4 separate regions of the Homo sapiens genome follow, and regions 1, 2 and 4 are each linked to region 3. Evidence: promoter capture Hi-C in human tissues and cell types (Jung and others, 2019). All regions are on one chromosome and are shown on one strand. Each heading gives the region's core, a stretch centred on a gene start or on the middle of the fragment in contact. The rest is flanking DNA. Distances are from core to core; before and after follow the strand shown.

Region 1 (6,891 bases), core at 2,607-5,106, 280 kb after region 3:
TTCTCCACAACGTCCCTGTGATAGGCAGAAGATCTGAAAAGCCTGCCCTGCGCAGGTGAGGCAGTGCATCACTAGGACCTACACAGGTACAAGACCCAGAAAGCCGTATTTGCTGATCCTGACTGGTAAGTGACACAACATCCTCATGAACAATACACAATGCCTCAGGTGTAAACACAGATATCCTTTAAAGCAACCCAGTCATTTCCGAAGTGTGCTTCAGTGACTATCAACTATGGATTCCTACTCAGCTGCAACTTCTGATTTCCTAAATAAATCTTCCATCTCCCAAAAAGAAGACTGAAAACACATCTCTACCTCCCCATCAAGGACAGTCATCTCTGAGAAGGGACAGGGAGGCCCCAAGAGCACTGGTCAGTGACAATGTCCCACAGGGGGGCCTACTCCTGTTGCTGGTGCATTCTCACCATGGAGACACTCCCAAACCCCGGGCCCACACAGACAGCTCGGATCAAACTCATTTCCTGCCTGCAGTCTGTTTCACTCCTTCTAGGCCCCTTCTGCAGGAGCCCGAGGATGCAGCTGTGTTTGCACTAACATTCCTGCAAGGGGGAGAGAACATTGCTGCAAGGCAATAAGAGGACGATAATTAAAACAAACAATAAAATGAAAATTTCATCAGCATTTTCAAAATAGGAGTTTTCAACTAGCAGCATTTTGCACAGAGCTGGGACAATTCCATTCTGGCAGACATCCTAAATCCTTTGAAGCCGGGAGACTACCCGTGTCCTTTCAGGAGAAGAGCCTGGCGGGGAGCTCAGGGAGCCGGCCAGGAGAGGGTCTGTTGCTCATGGCCTGGATCTTCCTTTTGCTGTGAGTTTGCACTACGCTGCTTTTGCAATGAGATTTTGAGCACTCTGAAGTATCATGGCTCTCAGAGGCAGATAGGAAGAGAGGGGACATTCACTGGGCCAAATTGGGCCAATCATCTCTGCTTTGGGAAATCAGACGAATCCAAGCCAACTGGCTCCTGGGAAGAAGATGTATCCAAGCCAGACAGGACAAGGCTGAAACAAAAGCTAAAGAATTCAAAAGGCACAAAGGTAAAAGCCAGCCCTAAGAGCTAGCCAGCTATCCTTCAGCAGAGCCAGTTGGGCCAGAGAGCAGAACTTCCAGGGTTCAGAGCTGGCAGTGTAAAAACAGAAGGAAAATGGGAAGAGGCCAGGGAAGGGGGAGAGCTGGGGAAAGACAAAAGCAGGGGAAGTCTCCTGGATTTTCCAAAATGACCTTTGGTGACCACAGCGAGTAGCCAAGAGGCCAAGTTGCCACAGATGAAGTGAGGTCCAGTCCTAAGAAGGCAAATGTCTTTATCTTCCTAACAGCTAGAGTCTGCAGCCCAGCTGAACTGTGGTAGAATACAGGGACAGAGGGCCACTGAATGAGGCTCACAGCTGGTGCAGAATGGGAAACCCAAGGCCCCTCTACAAGGGGAGACATGCCCACGTGAAAGCCTGCCAACCAGAAATCTGCCAACTGTTTTTCAATTTGTTTTGTGTTCCTCAGTTTCCTTTTCAGGTAGGTCATATATTTAAAAACTGATTTTCATTTGGGAGGCGGAGGCTGGCGGATCATGAGGTCAGGAGTTTGAGACCAGCCTGGCGAATATAATGACATGCTGTCTCTACTAAAAATACAAAAATTAGCCAGGTGTGGTGGCCATGCCTGTAGTCCCAGCTACTCAGGAGGCTGAGGCAGAAGAATCACTTGAACCTGGGAGGCTGAGGTTGCAGTGAGCCTAGATCATGTCACTGCACTCCAGCCTGGTGACAGAGCGAGACTCCATCTAAAAAAAAAAAAAAAAAAAAAAAAAAATCCCTGACTTTCAACTCACAAAAAACATTAAAAAGTGGACAAAGGACATGAACAGACACTTCTCAAAAAAAGACATACAAGCAGCAAACATATGAAAAAACGCTCAGCATCACTGATCATCAGAGAAATGCAAATGAAAACCACGGTGAGACACCATCTCACACCAGTCACAATTACTATTATTAAAAAGTCAAAAAATAACAGATGCTGGCAAAGTTGTGGAGAAAAGAAAACGTTTGTACACTACTGGTGGGAATGCAAATTAGTTCCGCCCCTGTGGAAAGCAGTTTGGAGATTTCTCAAAGAACTAAACATAGAATTACCCTTTTACCCAGCAATCACATTACTGGGTATATACCCCCCGAAAAAAATTAAGCATTCTACCAAAAAGACACATGCACTCATATGTTCCTCACAATACTGTTCACAACAGCAAAGACAAGGAATCAACCTAAGCACCCATCAGTGGTGGATTGGATAAAGAAAATGTGGTACACATACACCATGGAATACTATGCAGCCATAACAAAGAATGAAATCATGTCCTTTGCAGCAACATGGATGCAGCTGGAGGCCGTTGTCTTAAGCAAATTAATGCAGAAACAGAAAACCAAATACCACATGTTCTCACTTGTAAGTGGGAGCTAGACACTGGGGACTCATGGACATAAAGATGGAAACAGTAGACAGTAGGAGCTACTAGAGGAGGGGGAAGGGAGAAAGGCAACGGTTGAAAAACTCCCTCTTGGGTGCTATGCTCAGTACCTGGGCGAACGGTTCTGTTGTACCCTAAACATCAGCATCACATAATATACCCTTGTAACAAACCTGCACATGTACCCCCAAATCTATAATATAAAAGAAACCTGATTTTTTTCGGATTACTAAAGCAATATAAGCAATATACATTCTCAGCAAAAAGGAAAAATTAAATACCAATTACCTATACTCTCCTCCAGCTCCTGAGATAACCCTTGTTTATATGTTGGTGTCTACTCTACATTTCTTATATATCTATATAATAATTATGGTCACAAGTTCAAAATCATAATGTACAATCTATTTGTAACCTCTTTCCACCCAAAATATCATGATCACTCTTCTTTGTTGCTTGTGTCTCAATCAACACTTATTTATGATAAATGAAACTCACTAAAACTAGATTCGGCCAGAGGGAATCCATCAGATGACTCAGGAACCTCACAGAACCCAAGAAACGACAGCTGGGACACAGGCTAGCACTGGGACGCCTCCCTGACACCCCAGGGCATGGCGTCCTCTCACTCTATCTGCTCAGCAGTGCCATCTCTGCAGCCCAGGCCCCTGCTTCTGTGTGTAGCAGCAGGCAGCGGCTGCATAGCCCACCAGATCCACTGGGCTTATCTCATCCTAAATGCAAAACACCAGCCTGCTAAACTCCCAATTCCAAATGCCCAAGGTCCGTAATCCGGCTGGCTTGGTTTGTCATCTCTACATCCTTGAAGTAATCAGCCATGGCTGGCGGGAGTGGGAGAGGCAGGGAATTGGTGTGCCAGGCCATTAGAGAAGTGGACTCACTTACAAATGTTATTTACTATTCCTTCAAAGGATATGCCAGGAAAACAGCTTGTATTAGTCAGGGTAGACTAACTGCTATTTACAGAAACCCCAAAGGCTTATTTCTTGCTCGTATCCCAGTCTACTGTGGACCAGTAGGGATGATTAGGAGCAGGTGTGGGGGTCAGGAGGGTCTGGGCTCCTTCCATCCCTGGCTCCCCTATCTTGTAGGGTCTTAGAGTCCTCTAGTGGACCTTTTGAACTCAAAAACTTAATCATGTCTGATCCATTTGCTTCCAGGCAGCTCCATTTGCAAAGCAAACACTCTCAAGATTCTTTCCTAGACATAATTCTAAGATGTGCTTGATTTCGTTGTCTCCTCCCTTACCTCCCACCTCTCTTGTTCTCAGCGGCTGTCTTGAGACTATGTGGAACAGTAGGCTTGAATGGGACAGCTGCATCCCAGTCTAACCTTCTGCTACAGGATTAAATCACTTTCTTCAATCGAAACATGTTATTGGGTCTCTGTCTCAATGCTTCTCAATCCCATCCCTTACTGTTAAGGAAGCAGCCAGCTTTTCCAACCCCTCTGGGGCAGACTGGATTTTCCCAAAACGGGCCATGGCCATAACAATCTTGCCAACGCCACGTGTTCTCCCAGAGCCTTGACACTCAGCCCACCATGAGGTGGAGCGTGATTCCCCTTGCTCTGCATATGGGCTGACCTTAGTGACTTGGTAATAACAACTGACATCAGGCAGAGGTGACACCACCTGACTGCCGAGACCAGGTGGTAAAGTGATAGAACTTCTGCCTGGCAACCCAGCCACCACGCTGTGAGGAAATTCAAATGAACCCACATGGGGAGACCAAAGGGAGAAGTCTATGTGGACAGGCACTGAGTCTCCAGGCAACAGCCAGAATCAGCTGCCAAACACACGAGTGAACCAGCCTTCTGATAATTCCAGTCACCAGCTTCAAGTCTTCCAGCAGAGCCCCAAACATTGTGCAGCGGGGACAAGATGTCCCTGCTGTGTCCTGCTGGAATTTCTGATGCACAGATGCCAGGAGTGTAAGAAATGGCTTATGCACTAAGTTTTAGGGTAATTTGTTACACAGCAATAATAGTTGGAACATGTTTGAGGCACCACACTTTTGCATTCTTCTTACTCCCTTTTTATATTACTTTTAAATCAGCTCATTATTTCCTAACTTCCTTCTTCTTGTGATACTTTGCCAAAGGCAGACAATAGAAGCCCACCACACATAAATATACACACACTGCTAATGTTCTATTTTCTAAACACTTCCCCTAGTGCTAAAATCTCAGGCACATGGTCTCCCTTCCAGATCATCACTGTGAAGTTCTACCAAACACTTTGCCACAACAACACAGGGCTTGACAGCCTTCCAGCCTCCTGGATGTGTCTCCTCACCACCCACAGCCTGACTATTAAGCCAATATCCCATGTTTTAGGCATTTCTATTATGGAAGCACCCACTTCTGGCATCAATATCTATATTATTCTGGGGAGACTAACTCCGGTAGCTAAGAATCCCATCATTCAATGGCTTAACACTATAGAGTCTTGTGGTCATTCATATTGTGATCCCACACGTGTGGGAGGGTCACAGCTCCCACACAGATGTCTTCTGTCTGGCTGATTCTCCATCACCAGCGCTCAGCAGCCTCCCCTGGGTCTTGTGCATCCTGCCAGTGTGGAGGATCACATGGTCAGTGCCTGGAAGTAGCACGCCTTACCTCAACCCACATTTCACTGGCCGCAACTCAGTCCTGTGGCCCCACACAACTATAAGGAAGGCTTATGTCAGCTGTGCCCCTGGGAAGAAGAAATGAGTTTATGAGCATCTAGCCATCACACTTCCACACTGCCCAAAGCAAGGCTGAAAGTCCAGTCACAGTAATATCACGCTATGTCTCTTCCCTAACTGTCCCCGTCCCAGAGTCCCTGCTCTGTGGGAGCCAGGCCTTCCCAGCAGCTCATTCCTAGGGTCTTGCTCAGGCTTGTCTAGATACTACTACAGTGGTATGCAGAATAGTGTACCAGCAGAGACAGCCACGTGCAAACCCCCAGACTCTGTGCATAGGTCACCTAGCATGGCAAAAGGGACTTTGAAGCTGTAAGTAAGGTTAAGCACTTTGAGTTATCCTGGGCTGTCCAGATGGGCTCTGTCTAATGACATGAGTCCTTAAAAGCAGAGAAACCCTTCCCGGCTGTGGTCACAAAGGAAGATGTGGTCAGAGAGATGCAAGGTTGCCAGCTTTGAAGACAGAAGAAGTGGGCCATGAGCTGAAGAACTCCAGAAGCTGGAAAGGGCAAGTGAATGCAGAAAGTGAATCCAGAGTGGAACACAGCCCTGCTGACACCTTGACCTTAGCTCAGCTGGACTTCCAACCTACAAAACTGTCTGATGATAGGTTTGTGTTTTAAGACCTCAGTTTGTGATCATTTGTCATGGCGGCAATAGAAAACTAATACAGCCAATGACTGCTCTTGGCGATAAATTCTGAGCCCCACACTTCAACAACAGAGAGCCCAGGGCCCCAGTAGGAATATACCTCATGTTCACAAACTAGCTTCTGCCAGACTGTGGCTGCCTTCTCCACACCCACGGCTCCACCCCTGTTCTCCTTACTCCCCTGCACCCAAAGCCCTGAGACTCAGGCCACCAGCCCTAAGGAGGCACTCTGGGCCACCCAGTCAGCACATGCTTGTCTCAGAGCCCTTCCCTGCTAAGCTTGGCCTCCGGCAGAGCAGCAAGACCGGAGGCCAGCCAGGGACAGCGTGTGCTCTGCCCAGAGGCCCTAAACCCAGAGTCGGCAGACCCAGCTGCACAAAGACAGAGGGATACACTGGTGTGTCCTACACGTGACCATGGGAGACACGGCTCTGGGCAGTGCTGGTCAAAATATGACAATGTGGCCACCATTCTCCCTACCACCCTCAACAACTCCCCTCAAGAAAGGGGTTGGAAATGATTCCCCCAGCAGATATGATGGGTGATAGCACAGCACGCCATACACCCTCCCTCACACGCCCAGGAAAGATGGGCTCTGTACGAGAACTTGCAGTTTAAGCCAAAACAAATAAATAAATGACGTGTGGAATTTTAGGCATGAGGTGAAAGGAGGATTATTTATCTTGGGGTCTTCCCAGAATGCCTTCAATAACCAATATGTTACCTGCCCATATGCAAGTGGAGTCTAGACCAGCCATGAAAATAGGCACAGTCCTTGGGGAAGGAGAGCCAGGCAGAAGGAAAGCAAGATAAGAACTGAAGACACAGGGAAAACTGCACAGTGGAGCTGGAGAACCAAAGCTAACCCTGTAGGTCAGAGACGGCTCAGGAACTGGGTAGTTCTCAGGCTAACGCAGGGGAAATGAAATCTGTGGGGTTAAACGTGTGCTCGAAAGTCTATGGGTGGGAAGAGAGCAGAGTGCAGCGGGAGGCGACATGGTGGATGAATCTGCACGGGGCAAGGCCCCTGTTTCACAGGAC
Region 2 (7,102 bases), core at 4,445-6,944, 440 kb before region 3:
TGTCTCTGCCACAGCCATGTTACACACAGCTCTGTGTTTTAATTAGCTGTGTGCATGCCATTCCCCACACCAGACACTAAGCTCTTTGAGATCAATGGTGGTGTTTTCTTTATCTTTAAAGAGGATCCCTTTGGTACCCAGCACATAGAGCAAAAACTATTTGTTGAATTGATTTGAAAGAGCTTTCAATGCATTTGGCAAGACAAACCTTACCTAGCAATTAACTAAGAAGGCAGTGGTGTAGCCTGATGAATGTAATTTATATTCTCATACAATAAAGTACCAAGGCATATGTTATTGATGAGAAAGGAGTGCTATGTAACAGAATGTTACATGAATTAAAGATCTTACAGACCAAAAGAAGGTAAAAGTACATGTGCACCTCAAAGACAAGTCGGAATTTTGACGAAGGTCTAAATAGGCATTCTAGGTTGGAAAGAACTAGAAGAGAAGAGAGACTTCTTGGGTTCTAGTGTATATCTGATCTGAGAATGAATTATAAAAGTAGAAGGCAATCTAGGAGATCATGCGTATGTTAAATCTGCAGTAGCCAAGTCATCTCTGGAAGCTAGTTGAATTGTTTAATTAACCTGTCGGTTCATCTAATATCTAACTCGGCTCCTTCCTGCTGCAGTTGAAATCCTTCTTTGCTTTATTCCATCCTCAGAGAAAATAGAGGACAGTTAATGATCCCTCTCTGTGCATTTCAGAAGATGGTGTAAAACAGTGCTAGAGAAAGCCTTTTAATCATATATTTCAAATATGCAGATCCAAAGGTGATAATTCAAGCACAGCTTTAAGATTTTTCAAATACCTTATTCCATCTGCCTTGCTCTGATGGTTTCTATGAACACATTTTCATTTTCTAAATCTGGAATTAGTAGAATCTGCTTGAAAAGGGATATTACAGTCAAGTGATGTTCTCAATTTGAGGTGTAATTATTTTCCCCCATTTTAAAAGCCTAACATAAAATGTGATGTGATTTTTTTTTCAACTTTGCAAGGGACATCAACTTTTTTATGTCTTCAATTTTTTTCTCTGAGCTTCCTACAACTTGGAGAATAATATAAATAAGAAAGGAAATGCAGATAAGTTCAATTTCTAGTTTGCAATAAAAAGTCAATGTATTGTCTGATAAATGTCCTCCTCTTTACCCCATCTTCTTCCTGTAGATGAAAATTCTGCTTAAATAAATGAAATAGTTGGCAGATAAAGATTGAATATATTCAAGGTGTACAACGTGATGATTTGATGTAATGCATGGTGTAATGCATGGTGTAATGACTGCACAATCAAATTAAGGAACACATTCATCACCACCCGTGCTGTACCTTAGGTCCCCAGAAGCTGCTCATATTGGAACTGAAAGTTTGTACCCTTTGACCAGTATCTCCCCATCCCCCTACACTCGCAGCCACTGGTAACCACTGTTCTACTCTGCTTTTATGAATTTGACTTTTTAAGATTCTACATATAAGTAAGATCGTGCGGTACTTGTGTTTCTGTGTCTGGCTTATTTTGCTTAGCATATTCTCCAGGTTCATTCATGTTGTCTCAAGTGGCAAGATTTCCTTCCTTGTTATGAGCTTATTCTCAAATCAAAATTCTTCTGGATGCTACATTAACCCTTAGAACCTAAGTATACACTTGAGCCTGCCTGAGATGAGATTGCACTTAGAGTCAAACATCAAACATCTTAGCACTGAGAGGAGCATTTGAGATCATCGAGTTCAAACCTATAATTTAACAGACGACGAACTTAAGACCCAAAGAGGTTAAGTGACTGAATGAAGGTCACGCTGCTGGTTAGTGAGAGCTGAGGCTAGGACTGAATTGCTGCTTAGGCTCTTTCAACATTATCGTTATATTTACCAACATTTTCCAAGTTGATTTTTTTAAATAGCAGTTTTGAAGAAGATGTTAATAAGCATTTTCTTTCATTGTATAATTTTAAGTATTATTTTAGGTGTAGGGGCTACCTGCCTAGGTTTGTTAGATGGGTATACTGTGCGATGCTGAGGTTTGGAGCACAAATGACCCAGTCACCAGGTAGTGAGCCTAGAACCTAATAGGGGGTTCTTCAGCCTTTGCCCTTCCCTCCATCCCCCTTCTAGAAGTCCCCAGGGTCTACTGTTCCCATCTTTATGTCCATGTAGACTCAATGAATAAGCATTTTGAATGAAAAGAAAAATATGTGCTGGACCAAGTAAACTTATAAAACATCAATTTAACCTGCTCTGCTTCACAGAGTTTAACATATTAATTTTCTGTCGCAACCCGAGAGAGATATTTAGCCAACACGTATGACTACAGACTATTTTTAAGTTAACATTTAGGAGCATCTATTAATATATCTAACATGCCAGCGTGCCAGAGAACAGTATTTGGAAGATGCTGCTCTTGACTAGAACCCTGTAGAGGTATGATCGAGCTTGACAGCAAATGCTGATGCTTACAGGCTCTTTCCCGCACTGGCTAGCTGAGCAGTCATAGGATCACACTACCCAAACTTCAAAGCCCTCATCTGTAAAACGGGCACTCAGCTCTCTTACTAGACGGTTAGGAGATGGTATAGCAGAGTAAAATGTGTGAACTGTAATTATCAAATTGTATTTGTGACAGCTTGCCAAAGTATCCACTGTGTAGCACGATAAAATAAATATATGAGAAAAAGTGTGTAATAAGAAGGTAAGGGTGAGAAATAAAATACAACTGCATAGAAGTACATATCAAAATCCATGTGAAAAGTCTTATATTAATGTTGACAGTGGATGGCACATTTGACTTTGCATTATTAACAAAAGAGAAAGAGTACTATTACTTACTGTAGGCAGGTAGTACACAAAATAACCATGAACCTTTTACATGGGAGAACCACGGCTTTGCTAAGTACTGAGACAGAAAACTTCATGGTTTTCCATTGACTCTTAAAAGCACGGATTGCGAAGTCACGTAGTTTCACCTTTGCCTCTAACTTAGTTAATTTAGCAAATTACATCATTTCCATAAGCCACCATTAACTCTTTCATACAAGGGGCAAGATCCAAGTGACCATGAGTGCTGTGCCCATGATGTGGGATAGTGAATGCCATTCCCTTCAAAACAGCAAGCTCACACTCAGTGACAGTCCCAGTGGACACTGCCCTCGCCAATATCTTCCAATATCAAAGAGAAATTTTGTCATCTGTTTCTTTTGCCATTGGCTTCCAATGAATTGGGTTACAATACCAAAGGGGATTGCAATAAAAATCACTTGATATCAAGCTAAAACATGCGGTGGTTTCAGTTTAATTCAAATAGTGGATTAATTATATAACATGGATAAATAACTTTCTGCAACAAGACTTTAAATGAGAGTGGAACAATAGAATTATACAAGATATGCTTCTGACAAACCCCTGGAACGCAGGTCATTCATGTTACCAACCCAGAATGGTCTAAATGTTTTGGTTACCATCTGAGAGGGGGGCAGGTTTGGCAGTGCTTCTAAAACGGGGAGAATAAGTAATCATGTCCCCATATTCTAACACATTAAGCATGACTACTATAATTTCATCCCAGAAAAATTCCAAAGCAAGTGATATCAATCATCTATCAGAGCAATGAAAATATCTCCAAAAGTTCCCATAGGATGGCTAATAGTAAGTAATGTAGTTTCTAGATGAACCCGCTGATATACACTGATTGCCAAATGTATCACAATGTGATGGAGTGATTTGACCCATAATATAGAATCGTTGGATCTAAGCCAATTAAATTTTGAAGGGCAAGTGCCAAAAAGGAGCAGCTGATCTTGAGCCAGTCTTTCTGATAATAGTAAGTGAGCAGAACCAATTGCCTGTTCAGATCATAGCTACTATGTGACAAGTAGAGATATACAGATAGTATCTGGAAATATGACAAAAAAACAGGCATACATTATGCCAAAAGAAGATTCTAAGGAGAATGTGAGTAATGAATACACTTTAACAACAGCACTATCATCTTCCAGATTATTTTCTTTGAAGAGAATTTTACTTACCTAGATAAATGTTATTTTTGTAAGTAAAATTACAAGTATTTATTCTGTGTTTCTTATTAATTGTAAACCACTTTAGGGCTAAGCATTAATTGTATTAACTAATGAATTAACTTACTCGTTTGGAGATATTTGCTGAGCATCTACCAGGCAATAGCAACATACTCTGTGCTAAAGGCAAAACAAAAGGCTTCTGACAAGGTCCCCACTCTCTAAGGGCACATAATTTAGTTGTTCTGGGAGTCACACAGCTGAATTCATTAAGAAATAAGAAAGAATATGATTAAGTCCCTGATAAATGGTACAGGCAGTAACTACGTACTGAAGTACAGAAAAATGGGATACATTTGGAACTGAAACTATCAGAGAAGGATTTGTTGAGAAGGGGGGACTTCAACCAACCCCTAAAAAAAAAAACCCAGTGGCTTATGTTTGATAGAGACATTGGGGAAGGAAATTGAAGCAGAGGAATTACACTCAAAATCTGCTGTCAATGATTTAATAAACAGATGCTTATTGAGCACATGCCACGTACTTTGGCACTGTTCTAGGTGTTGGGAATAAAATGGTGAGCAAAAGTTAACAGGTTCTCTCCTAATGGAGCTTACTTCATAGTGGGAGATACACTAAATATCAAAAATGTACACAGGTAAATTCACAAGGACTGTCTCCTTGATGAAACTTTAGTCTCCTCTGAATCCTCTTCTCTACTAGGCCTTGTCGTTGGCTCGGTTTTAGCCAAGAATCCTGCTGAGCCCATTTATGGAGCATCCTCTCCGCCCTTACTACTTAGACATGCTTCTCCTCCTAGATACCTAATCACATTCTTAGTAATTCTCCATCCACTCCCTTACCTCGCCTGCCAACTCAAAATCTCTGCTTGTCTCTGTTATATTTGGGGTGCTGCTGCAACACATACCTAAAATGGGGACATGGCTTTGGAACTGGGTAATGGGCAGAGGCTGGAAGAGTTTGAGATGCATGCTAGGAAAAAACCCTAGATGGGTATGAACAGAGCATTGAGACTGATTATGATGAGGGCACAGAAGAAAAGAGCTTTACAGACAGCCTAAATCTTCTTAGACATTATCAAAGTGGTCATGAACAGAATATTGGTAGAAATATAGATGGCAAAGGCCATTCTGATGAGGTCTTAGGTGGAGACGAGAAATAATGTATTAGAAACAGGAAGAAAGGCCATCATTGTTACCAAGTGGCAAAGCACCTGGCTGAGTTGTGTTCATATCCTAGTGCTCTGTGGAAAGCAGAGTTTAAGAGTGATGAACTAGGAAATTTGGCAAAAGAAACCTCCAAGCAAATGTTCAGGGTGCTGCACAGCTTCTCCTGACAGCTTATATGAAAATATGAGAAGAAAGAAATGAAGTGAAGACAGAATTTATAATTAAAGAGAAAGCAGAACTTAAAGATTGGGAAAATTTTCAGCCTGGCTAGATTGTGAAGAACAGAAAAGTGTGTTTGAGAGAGAATACCCAGAGTATGGCCAACCTACCATTTGATAAGGATCAGTATGGTTAGAAAGAAGCTAGATGCTATTCATCAAGTCAATGAAACAATGACCCAGAGGGCATTTCAGAGATTATCAGTGATGCCATTTCCTAGAGTGCTAAGGCCTTGAGGGTAGAATAGTTTCAAAGGAGAAGCCCAGGGCACCTGTGGGACCTCAAACCTGAAGACCCAGGGATGACTAACATCTCTGTTTCTCACATTCTGCTGCAATGTTCCTTGGCTTCCCCAGCTGTGGCTCAAGTGGACCCAGGTGCAGCTTGGGCCACCACTTGATAGGGCACAAGTGGTCAGCTTTGGTGGTGTCCACATTGTGCTAATTCTGCAGGTGTGTAGAGTTCACGAGCTGTGAGGGCATGGATGCTTTTACCTAGATTTCAAAAGATGCCTCAGAGAGCCTCAGGGCCCAGGCAGAAAACTTCCACAGAGCCAGGGCCATCACAGAGCATCCTCACTAGAGCCACGTGTAGTGGAGCTGTGGGAATGAGTCTCCCCCATACCACAGAACTGTACAGCCACCAGAGTGCAACGCCAGCCTGGGAAAGTCACAGTCACGCACCTCTTCAATAATGCAAACTGAAGTGTGGGCTATCCCCAGCAAAGCCGTGGAGGTGAGGCTTCCTGAGGCCATGGGGGCCCAACCCCTGAACCAGTGTGTCCAGGAGGTGAGACATAGGGTCAAAGAAGATTACTCACAAACTTGAAGATTTAATGTCGTTTGCCCTAGAGTTTTGGATTCTCTTGGGACCTACTACCCTTTATTTCCCCCTATTTCTTCCTTTTAGAATGGGGATGACTATCTTATGACCCTCCCACCATGGTATTTCAAAAGCATATAATTTGTTTCATTTCACAGGCTGACAGCTGGAGGGAAATTTCTCACAGGATGACTTGTACCTTGAGTCTCACCTATATCTGATTTAAACGATATTTAGATGAGACTTTAGATTTTAGAATTTTGAGTTGATGCTGAAATGCATTAAGACTTTTGGGGCTATTGAGATGGAATGAATATATTTTTCATGTGAGGACATGAATTTGGAGGCGTAGGGGTGGAATTTTATAGTCTGAATATCTTCCAAAATTCGTGTGCAGAAACTTAATTTCCAATGTGATAGCTGTAAGAGGTGGGGCATTTGAAAGGTGATTAGGTCATGAGGGTGCAGCCCTCATGAATGAGATTAGCAACCTCATGAAAAAGCTTGAGGGGGTGAATTTACTTCTTACATTTCTTTAACCATGTGAAGACACAGCATCCATCCCTCTGGAGGAGGCAACGGGGCACTACATTGGAAGCAGAGAACAGCCTTCCCCAGACACCAACCTCTCGGCACCTTGTTACTGGACTTTGCAGCCTCCAGAATTGTGAGAAATAAATGTCTGTTGTTTATAAATTACCCGGTCTGTGGCATTTTGTTACAGCAGCACAGACCAAGGCAACTGATGAAAAGAGCTGGGCATCTAATACAAGGTCAACAAAGTGGAGCCCTTCCCTGAAACTTTCAGACTGAGAACCACAAAGAATGAGGGTCAATCACAGAATAAAACTCAAGAGCTGG
Region 3 (6,806 bases), core at 1,563-4,062:
ATTACATCAGCCTTTGGTTTTTAGACGCAGTGAAAGTAAGTGGCTAACGAGCTGGTATTAATCCCTGTGGGAGAAAAAGCATCATCATTTGAAACAAAGAAAAAAAAGTCTAAAGCTATAACAGGAAGTAAAAGAAAAGAGAAAGGAGAAGTCGCAAGTAAGCCATGGCAGCTCATCAGAACTTCCGGATCCAGCCAGGTTTCCCACAGGAACCCCTCAAGATGCGAAGCGTTCTTTCACCGACACCTTCTAAGGCTAACTTTTTCTCCTCCCCGTTCTTGTTCTTACCGGGCTCCTGACACAATTAGCATAAGAGTAGCCCTCAAAGCAGGTAACAGACTCTTCAGAAAGAGGGCATGTTGCAGTGATGTCCACACCCTGCTCTCCCCCAGAAGATGGGGGCAGGGGGGTGGGGGGGATAGCTTGTCATTGTCGTTCATCCACCATGCTCAGGACGGTCAGGCAGGGGTGCAGGTTCATCCTCCTTTCCCTCAGCCGGCTTTAGTTTCGGGTACTTCTCCTGCAAGCAAGTTCTGCCTGCTCCCCACCAGTGCAGTGCCACGGGACCCCTAGAAGGAGGTCTCACCCTGGCTCCTGGCTCCTTCAGGGCGCGCTGCAATGCAGCTTCTGCAGACTGGGGCTCACCCCCCGCCTTGCTTTCTAAAGTGTAATGTTATGATTTCTGCCATAAGGGGCGCATCCATACAGCCAGGATTCCCTTGGGATGGGGGTCCTGATCTTTGCTCCAGCACAGTGAGAGGAGGGGAAGCGGGTATGAGGAGGCCCCCCGGAGCTGCCATCCAGCTGGGGACTTGCCTACGCAGGAAAGTTTGTCTTCTCCTGCCACGGACCCAGTGCACCCACCTAGCTCCCTCTACCAGGCTCAGGCAGGTACTGAGTGTTCCGTTGGCTCTGCCTTCCCTGCTGAGCACAGCCCCCAGGCTGGACCCCCTAGGATGCTGCTGGAATCTGGAATAACAACAACAGCAACCCCCACTCTGAACTTCTTGGTCAGCCTAAAACAAACAGCTGGGAACATGGTTATGCAGAGCCCATCCCTGCTTTAAAAAGTGCCATCTTCACAAGGTGTTACAAAACATTACAGGCTGGATTACTTGTTTTAGTTGATCCTCTCTTCTTTCTCCCCAGTAAACTTCCATTTTTCTGATTTCACTTTGGCATCTTAGGACTACTCAGGGAATTATATTATTAAAAACAACACTGAAAATATTCCCACAAAACCCTACCAAGTAATACTGAATATAGAAACATAAAACTGTATGTTTTACCTATAAAAAGGCAGGTAAGGTTTTAAAATCTTAGCATTCCTGTCTGTGTATATATGTATGAAAATTTAGGTTTAAGCTAATGTTTAACACAATGCATTTATCTCAATTTGGGGGAAAAAAAGAGATCCTGACTGTGCGACGGTTTGGTATGAAAACCGACACTTTTGCTGCTGCCTAAAACCTTGGCAAGCATAACCTAGCCCCTTCGGCATTGTTTGAAAGATGCCTGCAGGCATTCAGTTGTCTGCTTGCAAAGGACTCCTGTGCAATTATCAAATCTATTAAGATGCCTTCAATTTTGCAACGCTTCTGCTAAGCTCATTTTGGTAGGATTGCAGCATCTTACCTGTGTCACTGCAGATTTGTTTTCCCCAAACAAATAACTGCTGTGAGAGGTGGGATCACATTTAAATCATTAGACAAGGTGGGGAAGGGGCTGGGGAGAATCAGGCAAATCCAAATTTCCAACCTTCCCTCAGCAGGGACATCCCAAATTCTGCCAAGGGAAATTCATATTCCTGACGTAAGGAACAGGAAGGAGATACTGAGAGGATTCCGAATTTCAAGGGCATAATCTGCCCATTTGGTGGAAGGATAAAGAAAGGACGGCAGGCAGTAGAGGGCCTGTGTTACAACAAGAAATGCAGGAGCAGATGAGTGAGCTGAGAAGGAGGGATGGGGCAGGGAAGGAGCTCCAGGGGGAGAGGGTAGGGGAGAGCAGTTCCGAAGGAAGGGAGGGAGGAGGAGAGTGGGGAGAGGTGGAGAGGGAGAGAGAGAGAGAGAGAGAGAGAGAGAAAAGAAACAGAGAGAGAGACAGGGAGGCGCAGAGATCTGGACTGATTCAGAAACAGAGAGAGACCACCACGACTGAGAGAGATAAGAGGGTGCCCCTTCCACCCTGCAGGTCCCAACATAGGCAGCAAGAAGGATTTATGGCTGGGAGTTCAAACCCCTCTTCTCCTACCCCCAGGACCACAGCTGGTTAATGCCAGTTGGTGACTTTCACTGAAACAGCAGTGCCTCACAGCATGGTGCAGATCTCGAACCCAGCTCACTGGATCCCCCGGAACAGAGAGCAAATCCCGTGCTGAAAGCATCTGCGCGCGTGTGAGCGAGTGAGTGTGTGTGTGCGTGCACACAGCAAGCCTACCTCTTTCACTCACATGCATCTCACACTCCCTGTCCTCACCCCTTCCTCCTTGCCTCTCCATCTCCCCACTGCCTCTCCTGCTCTCACGTCGTACAATCACCCCAGGGAGAGAAAACACCCTTCCCCTGTACGGTACCTGGGATGAAGAGCAGGGCAGTTGTCGCCGAGAAGACGACCCAGTAGGCAGGATGGTACATCTCGACGCTGCGGTGCTCTCAGCTGCCGGGCTTGCTACTGCTTCTGCTGCTGCTACCGCTGCTGCCTTCCTCTGTGCTGAATTCTGAGCAGGTTTAAATCCAATGTTTGCAAAGGGAGGGAGAGAGCAGAAGAGAGAGAGAGCGCGCGAGAGATGGGAGCAGGCAGGCAGCGTCTCTGATTTCTTTTCTTGCACACAACTGGTAAGAATCATCAGCACCAATCTGCACAGGGCTCAGAGCAGTCCTCCAAGGCACGCATTGGCTCCACTCTCCTGAGCGACGGAAGGAGACTTTCCTGCTTGGAAGGCTTGACTCCAAGGGGAGTCGAAGCCGGCCCCTCACTCACCCCCTCACCGGAGCACAGCCCTGCGTGTTGCTATCTGTGTGAGTATGTTGATGTGGGGCTCACGTGGACACGTGAACACACACGAGCTCCTTGGTGGGCAGTGGAGAGGGCCTGGCACTGCCAGCAGGGCTCAGGGCACACCAAGAAAGAAAGGTTGCTTGGCAGAAATGTGACTAATGCCCATGCCAGTTCCTTATCATTCTTCCTTCTTCCTAGTCTCCAGGCAGGGATGGAGCAGGAACTGCTACCCACGGGGAGAGCTCAGACATTTAAATCTGCACCCTACCCCTCCATTCGGCCATTAACAGCATTTGGAAGCAGTTGGTTTTCCCAGTAAGGAGATGGGCATGTTACGGTTTTAAACCAATGATGCAGGGAGAATTGGCCAGTTCCCCACAATCAGAGCATTCTGAAACTCTACCAAGGCAAGATGCTATAGAAGCTCAAACAATTGCTATGATTACAGCATAGGCAGGGACAGATTCAGATTAGATCTCAAGGAGGCGGAAACTTGCTGAAGTCATCGGAAATCTTCACAAGGAGAAGGCCACAGAAGGATACCTGTGGCTTCCTTCTGTTTTTTTTTTTTCTGCTTCTCCTTTTCAGGGTCCAGTCTGTCCCTTCCTCTGGAATGGCAGTTTACACCGGCAGTTTACACAGGATGGCAGTATCTCTGGGTGTAAGAAACCTCAGAACTTTCCCCTGCTCTAAAACGGCCTGCTTGCCCTCCCTAACACGTGCTTGTAAGCAGCACACCTTGCTGGCTGAGTGGTGCTGCCACTGAACTATACCCTGAACTTGGAGGGTCTGTGATCAAAATAGCACCAAGTATTAGAGAAGGGACTCAGCAGACGATTTCTGTCCCAGGTGCTCTCCGAAGACCTCAAGTGGCTTGGATTCCTTCCCAGCTCCACGTGTCCACACCTTGAGGTCTGTGAGGGACACTCCACAGGAGGTCTTTCTCCCTTCCTCCTTTGCTGCAATTCCCAAAGTTTTCCCAAGTGACCTACTATGGGCAGGTATTCACCTCTATCACTTTAGTTAATCCTCACCAGCGTCCTTCCTTGTAGGCATTATGACCCCTGAATTTTCAACTGAGGTTGACAGCGATTCAGTGACTTGCCACACAGCTAATGAGTTAAGATAAAAACCCAGGTCTGTCCTGCAAAATCCACACAGTTTTTATAAAGCAGCCAATTGCCAACAAGTTCTTTGGGCCTGACTGAGCGCCTCTCTTTCTATAAAATAAATCATGTTTACTTTTAAAGAAGTAAAACAATTGATTACTCCCCTCCTTATGAACAAGTCAGAAAACTTCAGCAGTAAAAGAGAAAACAGATGATGATTGTATCATCCGCTGACACTTATGAAGTACCTACTTAACATAGTCATTTTTTCAGGGATGAGAATATGAAGAATATGATTTGTTCTCGTCTATAAAGGGCATACAATATAAGTCAGGAGATCAGCCAAAAGTTAGCATTGTGACTTTGCGAATGTACATAAAAATAATAGGACACGTACACACTGTTAGAGTCAAATTTTGTAGACCTCATCACTGCAAACATGTCGTTCACAAGCAAATTGATATGTGAATCCTTCAGGCAATGCTGGAATCCTGCAGAAATCCAGAATTATTACCAGTGGCTGAATACGCTGGAGAATACAACTGGCTTGAAATTGTGGGAGAGACCAGATAGGCCACAGAAATGAGATAGACATCTCATGGAGGGGAAGAGAGCAGACACAGGTAGAAACCCTGCAGGGGGGAGTTAGGGGAGGAGATGGGAGACCAAGAGAGAAAGACCTTGAGTCCTAGACCAGTGATTTAGAAATTTCCCCCTGCTGGGAAAAACAGTTAATTTCTTTTTGAGCAGGGGAGCGCTGTGAATGAGAGGGAGTTAATTTATGGAAATTAATCTGGGTGAAGTGTACAGGAGGGATTGTGGCAAGCACACTTGTTAGTAGGCATGGCCCAAGTTTGATAGATCCTGGAACTGGTGGTAGCAGTAGAAGAGGAAAAGAAGGGGGTTGTATGTGGAACGCAGAAGAGTTAGGAGGACGTAGTGACTGATGGCATTCTACGGATAATAGACATCATGTATTCACCCTCTGCAGGCTAGATTTTTTTTAAAAATATTATCACATTCAATTCCTAGCCGTTACTCTATGAAGGTGTAATTATGCCTTTTTGAGAGATGAAGAAACCGAGACTTAGAAAGGTTAGGTAATTTATCCGAGGTCACACAGCTAGTTAGTGACAGCCAAAATTTAATCCTGGGTTTTTCTGTTTCCAAATAAGCGACTCCCTAGAAGAAATTATCATATTGGGCACCATCATTTTATTGAATATTCACATGCCAATCACTCAGGTATTGCCCTTATAAATCCCTATTTATTTATCACCCACACAGACTAGAGGGAGAGACTGGAGCTCAAAGAGCTTTAATAACATCCCCAACATTGCAGAGCTGCCCGGGTGTGGAGCCCCGGTTCAAGGCCTGCCTTCACCACTGGTGCTCTTAACCACCAGGAGGAGAGAGAAGGAGCAGCACTGGCAGCCTAGGAGGGGACCGAGTCCCAGCGCTGCCTGTGCAGTAGCACCTGAGGACATGGAAGTGCATTCCATGCAGCCCCAACCCCACTCCAGGAAAGAGGGGCACACACTACTAGTCGGTAGCTAGTGGCCAGACAGGAGCAAACTTTCATTAAACTGTCTTGGGCCAATCACAATCCTAGGAACTTCATAAATTTTCTCTGTATTGCTAGCCCATTTCAAAGATAAATAAATAGAACAAGTTACAGAGAGTCTCGAGTCCCTCCTCTAAGACTAATAAGTGGCAAGGAAATTGAGGTCTTTCTTACTCCAGAGTTTACATTCTTTCACCTTTCCCTGTCAACTATATTTTTGTTTTAAAAACACCCATTTATTCTGCCAACATTTTTCCTAGTCCACACACATGCACACACATGAGCATACACACACACACATACCCCAAGTCTTTTAATTAAATTCACATTTAACACACTTCTATGTATAGCAGGAAAAAATTTTTAAAATTTGTATACCTAATATGATCTTCCTTAAGGAAACACATAAATATGTATTTTCACTGATCAATTCTTTTAGGTCTATTATATGATTAAAACATATGTCTCTTTTATTTAAAAAAAGTAGAGGAAGAAATGTATAAATGCATATTTAATCAATAGATGGCACCAACTCTGTAAAGAGATATTACGGTCTACTGGGTCTATTTAAACATCTTTAAAAAATACAAATACAAATAAAAATGCTTCAATGCATATTTACTAGGGGGACTGCTCTCTTCTCTGGGGTAAATAATATGCAATTTTATACCTTCTGTGAATCTTTATTTTCTTCTTCCAAAGCAAACAAAATCATCAAAACTGTATTTAAATAGCAACAATGTGGGGGAACAAACCAACCAACACCAGGCAGTTGTGCAAGGAGACTTGACTGTCACACTTGCACTTCTGACTAGGATTCTTTCTTCTGGAACAGCGGTGTTGGGCTGACATCTTCAAAGGCAGCGGCCAGCTTCCTAGGGCCAGATGGGGAATGGGAATGTTGGATCAGGGGTGAGGTCCCCCTGGGTCCAAGGTGTGCTCCTGCCTGATGCCAGTCCTGCTCCTTCACACCAGCTGTATGACCTTGGGCAAGGATACAGGGACTTCCTCTGACTCATATTGTTTCTTTGTTATACAGAGAACTGCACTGATGAAGAGATTACCTTGTGGTATTTTATGTATCCATTCATTCATGCAATAAATATTTCTTAGATACCTACTCTGGGCCAGGT
Region 4 (7,323 bases), core at 2,821-5,320, 380 kb before region 3:
TCAAAAACAATACACAGACATCTGGGTGACAGACAAAGTGAAATTAGCACAGCCGAGCAGCGAATTAATTCAAGTTTCTGGAAAGCAGAAAGCAGCTACTTTGTGGGCATCTAGGCAAGAGGTAACCTGGGCTCTTAGCAACAACAGTGGCCAGATGGGAGCTGAGTCTTCAGGTGGCATGTGGGAATCAGCAGAAAACGGCAGCGAGTGAGACCAGGTGAGAATTCATTTAAACAAATATGCTTTGGACTTATCATGTATGCTTACCTGATTCTTTGGGGGATAAAGAGATAAAGTTGTCTACTATTAATTAATCTAGGGCTGACTACGATTAATGACAGTGCTATAACTGAGGCAGGGTGCTGTGGAAATGTTCTAGAAAGACATATTTTATCAAGGTGGAGGAGAGTGGCCATATCACAGGACATTTACGAGGAGATGAAATTTACTGAAGCTTTGCAAGTTAGATGCAATGTTGACTGGCAATTATAGAAAAGGGAGAAGGTAGAAAAGGCAATTGTAGCAAGACAGAACCTCTTAAAGGTAAACCAGAGAAAGGTAATTATTAAATTGGTCAGCAAGCAAATTAGGCATGGGGATAGGAGTAGCAGTTGAGAAAAAGTTGTGCTGGAAGGAAACCTGGAAAGTTTGATAAGGTCACAGTGTTGAGAACTTCAAATGTGAGGCTTAAATACTTGTGCTTTCTTCTGAATGCAATGAAGAGCCACCCACAGCTTGTGAACACAGGAGAGGCAGGACAAAAAGAAAGAAGCAAGGTAACCCTTACGGCAGTACATAAGGCACATTGGATAAGAAAGAGCGTGGAGGTAGGAAGACTGATTTGAAGGTGGGGACATGGCCATGAGGCCCTGAGCTGGTGCTGTGCCCTCAGCTGTGTGCCGGAGGGGTCAGCACTGGAAGGTATAACCAATGGGCAGGCTGTGGTTGCTGAGTGAATTCGCAGACAACAGAGAGGAAGGAGCAAACAAAAGATCTGGAAGTTGGAACCATGATGACAGGAAGTGGAGAGTGTCATTTAAAAAGTAAAGGGAGGAGAGAGAATGAATTTACACTGGCGAATACCTTACAAGGTATTAATGATGTTCATAGACATTTCTAACAATGGTAGCCCTGTGATAATGTCTTATTATTTCCATTTTTAAATGCTAGCATAGATCCATGATTGAAGCGAGGGACTAGAGTTCTAAGAGCTGAGATTTTTACTCTAGGCTTACTGTGCCTGTACTGTGTGCTGCCAGATAAATCACTCAGCCTTTGTGGGACTGTGGCTGCGTAAAAGAGAAATGGGGCTACTAATCCCACTAATGGTCTTCTTGATAAGGACACAGGGATGATGAGTGAGCTGATGCTTGGAGCTCTGGGAGGGAGAGGTCATGATCAATGAGAGTGTGGAGATGTTCCCTGCCATGCTCTATCTTCCATCTTTTCTTTTTTTTTTTTTTTTTTTGAGACAGAGTTTCTCTCTTGTCGCCCAGGCTGGAGTGCAATGGCACAATCTTGGCTCACTGCAACCTCTGCCTCCCGGGTTCAAGAGATTCTCCTGCCTCAGCCTCTCGAGTAGCTGGGATTACAGGCACCCGCCACCATGCCCAGCTAATTTTTGTACTTTTAGTAGAGGCGGAGTTTCACTATGTTGGCAGGGCTGATCTTGAACTCCTGACCTTGTGACTTGCCCGCCTCGGCCTCCCAAAGTGCTGGGATTACAGGCATGAGCCAACGTGCCTGGCCATGCTAGGCTAATTTTTCTCTATTTTTAGTAGAGATGAGGTTTCACCATGTTGGCCAGGCTGGGTCTTGAACTCCTGACCTCAGGTGATCTGCCTGCCTCAGCCTCCCAAAGTGCTGGGATTACAGGCATGAACCACCACGCCGGGACCTCTATCTCCTATCCTCATCTGTCTCTTGCATAAGTAGGGAACTCCCCCCAGCACAGGCCCAGTAACATGACAGGGCTAGAGCCCATGTTCACTGTGGACAAGGGGAAAAAACACACACAGTTGAGATTACACTTCTAAAAAGAGCTGTCCAATTTATCAGCTATTCCCCTCCTGACCTTTGCTGAGTACTGAGAAGCCGTGGTGCCTTCCCCTGCAAGCTTCCCCTCTGCAGGAGACTCCAATGAATGAAGCATGCTTAAATAAATGTCTCCAAGGCAGCCCCATCAAATATTAAAAGAACAGAACTCCTTCAGTCAGCAACAGGGCACGGCACCCAATCCCTGAGTGTCAGGGGCTGCCGCCTCCTCTGATCACTTCAACTTTAAATAGCTCTTCAGGGGGGTGTTCCTATCACTAAGGCTGATAGGCAGTGCCACTTTCTACACGCAGGCTTTGTCTGCAGCATCTCTCACCAACACAGAGGAACAAGAAAACCTGCTGACCACTCAGAAGGGGAGAGGCAGGTAAAAGAAGACGAGGGAGGCAGTAGGTCATGGGAGATTTGAGGAGTTATCACTTTTGATAGTCTGGAGGCCAAAGTTGAGAAAGGAGAAAGCTAGGCCCAGCGTGCAGATCTGGCATCTGGGAGGTGCATCTTGAGCAGACAGGACACGGAGAAAGCCCTACCCGCTTCAAAACAGGAAGACTCTACCCTCTGAGCGAGAAAAAGGCCAATTTCGATGGTAAGCAGCAGTGACTTTGACCTTAGCAAGCATGTGTGGGTTTATAAAATGGGGATAAGAATGCTTACCTGGGATCGATGTTTTGGGAATTAAACCAGGTAATACACAGAAGGGATGGGTGGCTCTGCCTGATACTTCACAGGGGCTCAACAAAAGCCGATGTAACCCGCCCTGCTCCCCATCTCACCACATCCCCCTTTAAATCAGTCCCTACTGAGTGCCAGGCACCAGAGCAGACAGGTCCTGGTTGTACAAACTGCAAATGATAGAATCCCTGTCCTTGAGGAATTCACCGGTTCACACTGTTACTCATCACTTGTGCATACTCAGCTAGTTCATAACCTCTGTTACTTCATCTGCAAAGACGGAATGATGATGGCATTTAACTCAAAATTGCCCCGTTTACTGCCCGTCCTGCAGTTGTTACTCAGCGAACGCTTTCTTCCTCCTGCCCATCTCTCATCCCTCCCCACCCCAGCTGCCATCTGATGTTGGGAAGCCATGGTGATAAAGGTGAGAATGTCACCCTGGGGCCACCAGGCAGCCACACAGCCAGCTTTTCCACTGTCTGCCCCCAAATAGCTGCCTTTCAGGAGAAAATTAAGTGGATTTCTCAAAATGCTAAACTCCTATAGAATCCAGAGGTCTCATTTCCCTCCTCCCTTCAGAAGATCCACTGAGAGCTCCCATTTCCTCTACTGCTCCTCACGAGGTAGCCTCTCTCCTGTGGCCCAGGTACTGTGAGGTGAGGCTTGCCCACTGCCTTACTCTAACACTGACCAAGCTTGCTCCCTCATGCCATTGATCAGATAATTTGTACTGAGAGCTCACAGCCAGAGACGATAAACTTGGAGGGAACGTGCAATCCATGCAGACTCCCCTGTCGCCTCCAGATATCTGCTTCTTACTGCGTTGGTAAATGGAAATGATGGCTCCAACCTCTCTGAAACAAGAGGGAGGGAAGTATCGCTGGCTGTTGGTTTTCACAGCCCTGGGCACTGGTTTGGAATCTCTGTCCACTTTGCAGGAGACTGGCCTTCGGGTAGACAGAAGAGAGGAGTGGTGAAGAACTGAAACAGCCATGTGCACTTCATTGCTCGCTCCATCCCACCGCCCTGCAGGGGGCGAAGAACTGAAACATCCATGCGCACTTCAGCGCTCGCTCCATCCCACCGCCCTCCAGGGGAGGAGGGGAAGTGGTTCTGGTGTCCCAGCTCTACAAATGGCAGAGACGAGGTCCAGAGTTTCAGTGAGCTGTCCAGGATCAGAGAGACCCAACTCAGATTCTGACTCTGAGCACAGCATGTTTTCCACCCTGGCACTCAGGAAGCTGCCTTAGATGACAGCTGAAAAAGGGAAGGAAGGAAGGCTTAGAGTGATGGACTGGGCAGGCAGCATCCACCATACTTCAGGATTTAGGGTCCTGATTAACCAAGCAGGCTGATGCATTCAGTCTTGAGAAGGAGAGAGGGGTTAAGGTAGAGGAGGAGAGTGGAGAAAAAGTTCCCTCACCCACTGCCAGCCGTTCTTCCCCTCCTTCCTTGAACACCACACTTCACCTGCTCTCTGAACTGGGAAAAGCAACAGACCCAGACAGCCACCTCAATTCTACTTAGCAGCTTAAAAATCTAAATTGATGGCTGTCCTCTTCATCTCTGAAGGTCTGTTATTTAGGTTTTGTGGTTTGTTCGTCCTAACTTTGTTACGCACCATGATACTTGCAAATGGGGCAACATAAATTAAGAACTGGTAACGGACGACATTTGGAGCAGGTCCTACGGGAGATTCAGATGAATCCTGATTTGTGGATATGAGGAAATCTTCCAATTTGACATTGTAGTATATCACCCATATATTTCCCCCTGCAAATGTTCTTTCCTACTGTTTTTAGCCTGCCTCTTTAAGCCAGTAAAAGGAGAGGCCCCAGGCAACTGCTAGGCTTCCCACTTAAAGTAAAACGAAGTTAATTTACTTGCAAAGAAGACATACAATTTACATCTCCTCTTTTCCATCCCTTCTACCATTTAGTGTGTCCCTGATAAGTCGGTTGCCACCTCCAAATTCTCTCAACCCCCACCCGCACGCTTGATGTTGCCAGAGACAGAAGAAATATCAGTTTTTGACTTGATAATCGGCTGTGGAAACTTTGTCCAATTAGTTATTAGAGCATGTGCAGTTGAGGATGGTGCTGCTGGCTCACTGAAGCTGCTGCTGTTTTGTCATGTGGTGTCTGGCTGACCGTTAGGCCACCCTGGGCACATCCCATCAGCTCAGTAATCCTTCATTCTCAACAGCAGACATCCAATTTGGATCCAAAGCCTGACCATTCACAGGAGGATCGTCTGGGGAGATAAAAGTAGAGCCTGCTTTGGGAGCAGGGAGGTGGTTATGCCAGAGTTGAGTCACTATCACTCTTCAAGAGGCCGGAGCACTTGTACTCAGCACTGGGGAGGGGAAGCGTCTGGTGCTTGTGTTCTCCCAGAACTCCGTCCCTGCCTACAGAGGGCTCCAGCCAGCATCCCTTGATTAACACTGCCCACCTCCACTCACTCCTTTCTCTCTGGGCCAGGCCCAGGCCACAGCAGTTTTCTTTTGTTATCTCATTTAAACCTTAAATAGTGGTCTTGGGAAACATGTTTTCTGTGTCTTTATTCTCCACAAATGAGGAATCACAGCCTCCAGATATATCAGGTGCCCATTTAGGGCATGCTAGTAATAATCACAAAGTCTAATGTGTATCGAGCCCTTACTCCATGTCAGGGACTGCGCTAAACCCTTTGCATGGATGGTCTCACCCTTTCCTCCAACAGCCCTGAGGGCTTCTGTCATCGTCTTCATTTTGCAGATGAAGAATCTGAGGTTCCAGAGGTTATGAAATTTGCCTGAGTTGATGCAGGTGCGAAATGGTGCAGCTGGGGTTTCAACCCAGGACTCTGAACCCTCTGTTTTCAGTTGCCACCTCTGTAAAAATTAGAGCTGCAGGAATTTGAGCCCATGGCTGTTGTTTTCGGAATCCATGCACCGTATGCTGCCTTACAGTGTCCTCTAAAACCTGAAGCCACTTGATGCCTTGGCCCCTTACTGTCCTGATAGCTTCCTGACTGTGGGATGCAGGCTGCCTCATGGCACTATAAGACCCCACTCCACCCCAGCACCCACTGTGCAGTGTCGGCAAAGGTGCCCTGGCATCTTACAAAATCTTCCTCCTCTCTCTTTTCTTTCCCCAGGAAAGAAACCTGCAGGAATCTCTCTAATGGACCTTGTAGACCTGGTCATAAAAATGAGTGTGCCTTCCAGCTCCGACACTGCAGAAGTGGTCAGCTTGTGTGGGATGGCCACAGGGCTGAGCAAATGGGTGCATGTGCAGACCCAAAGGGCAGCTGAGAAGGACTGAGAGCTCCTCAGGAAGCCACATCCTCCCCTGCCCCGGAACCCTTCTAGAAAGAGAGTGGCCTCCAAAGCTATTTCAGAGACATTAATAATTCGTCGGCCAGGTGCGGTGGCTCATGCCTGTAATCCCAGCACTTTGGGAGGCTGAGGTGAGCGGATCACAAGGTCAGGAGTTCGAGACCAGCCTGACCAACGTGGTGAAACCCGGTCTCTGCTAAAAATACAAAAATTAGCTGGGCGTGGTGGTGCACGCCTGTTATCCCAGCTACTCAGGAGGCTGAGGCAGGAGAATCACTTGAACCCGGGAGGCGGAAGTTGCAGTGAGCTGAGATTATGCCACTGCACTCCAGCCTGGGCAACAGAGCGAGACTCTGTCTCAATAATAATAATAATAATAATTCATGAACCCCAGGGGAAAAAGAAAAAAACTTTAAAAGAGGAAAACAAGGATCTAATGGGCCTCAGAGGCTCCCACACAATTGGCAATGGCTGGTTTGCCCTTTGGCTGCTGGAGATGCAGGAAGATGGGGGAGGAAGGAAGGAGGAAAAAGAGAATGTATTTTTTTTTCAAAAAAGAAGCACACTTTTAAAAGCTAGAAGAGCCTGTATCAATATGACCTTGTCCAGAATTTATAAAAGAGCTTTGGTATATAAATTTGATCCCTGAAAATTATTGGATGAGGAAAGTGCAGTTATGATTAATCTAATTTTTCAGTTAAGGAGAAATACATCTTCACTAGTTTGGGGTTTGCTGGCAGCCCAAGCCCTGACCCTCCACAGCTCTGTCCCAGAGGCTATTCTTCACCCTGTGGACACTGCTCCTGGTTCCCACCTGTGTTCTATCACGGGATCAGTTAGGGCTTCTCGAGAGAAGAGCAGGAGATGGAGGTGGGAATCTTGGTCTAGAGTTCTCTAGATTTCAGCAAAAATCTCAACTGAGATCCCCAAGGCTGAAAAAAGACCCCAGGCCCTCAGAAACCATTATCCTTCCATTCAAGACACCTGGGACTCCTCAGAGTGCCTTGGCAGGATCCCCCAGGAAGAGAATGCTTCTAGCTCTTGACCTTCCAGAGGGTTTTGGTGATTTTTGTATGAAGAACAATGACATCTTTTTTGTTCACAGTTGTTGAGGAACAGAAACAGAGATTTAGTTTATAATCTGATGACTAGTTGTCCCTTTTATCCCCCATGTATTGTTTCTACCTTGGAGTTCAGGTGTCAGAAACTGTCTGATCTTATTTTTAACCTCCTTCAGAATCCAAACCGCTGAACAAAAAAAGAGGAATGATTTA

The links. Contacts are between HindIII fragments. The study calls those that stand out against the background at their distance.
Region 1: a fragment that was not itself captured here is called in contact with the fragment with the promoter of OPCML in region 3 in 1 of the 25 tissues and cell types used here (dorsolateral prefrontal cortex).
Region 2: a contact is called between a fragment that was not itself captured here and the fragment with the promoter of OPCML in region 3, in 1 of the 25 tissues and cell types used here (dorsolateral prefrontal cortex).
Region 4: a fragment that was not itself captured here is called in contact with the fragment with the promoter of OPCML in region 3 in 2 of the 25 tissues and cell types used here (H1 embryonic stem cells and dorsolateral prefrontal cortex).

Annotation. Positions count from the first base shown.
Region 1 is chr11:133,811,577-133,818,467 of GRCh38, forward strand. No RefSeq gene overlaps it. Among named protein-coding and RNA genes, the nearest start is that of LINC02743, 4.6 kb to the left of the region's middle. The HindIII fragment of the contact is 5,580 bases long and covers 1,067-6,646 here.
Region 2 is chr11:133,085,341-133,092,442 of GRCh38, forward strand. The region is part of intron 1 of OPCML (opioid binding protein/cell adhesion molecule like); the gene reads right to left. Among named protein-coding and RNA genes, the nearest start is that of OPCML-IT1, 280 kb to the right of the region's middle. The HindIII fragment of the contact is 5,557 bases long and covers 2,917-7,102 here.
Region 3 is chr11:133,529,689-133,536,494 of GRCh38, forward strand. OPCML (opioid binding protein/cell adhesion molecule like) reads right to left here and starts at 2,813. Exons shown (of 8, transcript NM_001012393.5): 1 at 2,576-2,813. The coding sequence starts at 2,636. The HindIII fragment of the contact is 11,580 bases long and covers 1-6,806 here.
Region 4 is chr11:133,144,864-133,152,186 of GRCh38, forward strand. All of the region lies in intron 1 of OPCML (opioid binding protein/cell adhesion molecule like), which reads right to left. Among named protein-coding and RNA genes, the nearest start is that of OPCML-IT1, 220 kb to the right of the region's middle. The HindIII fragment of the contact is 7,946 bases long and covers 98-7,323 here.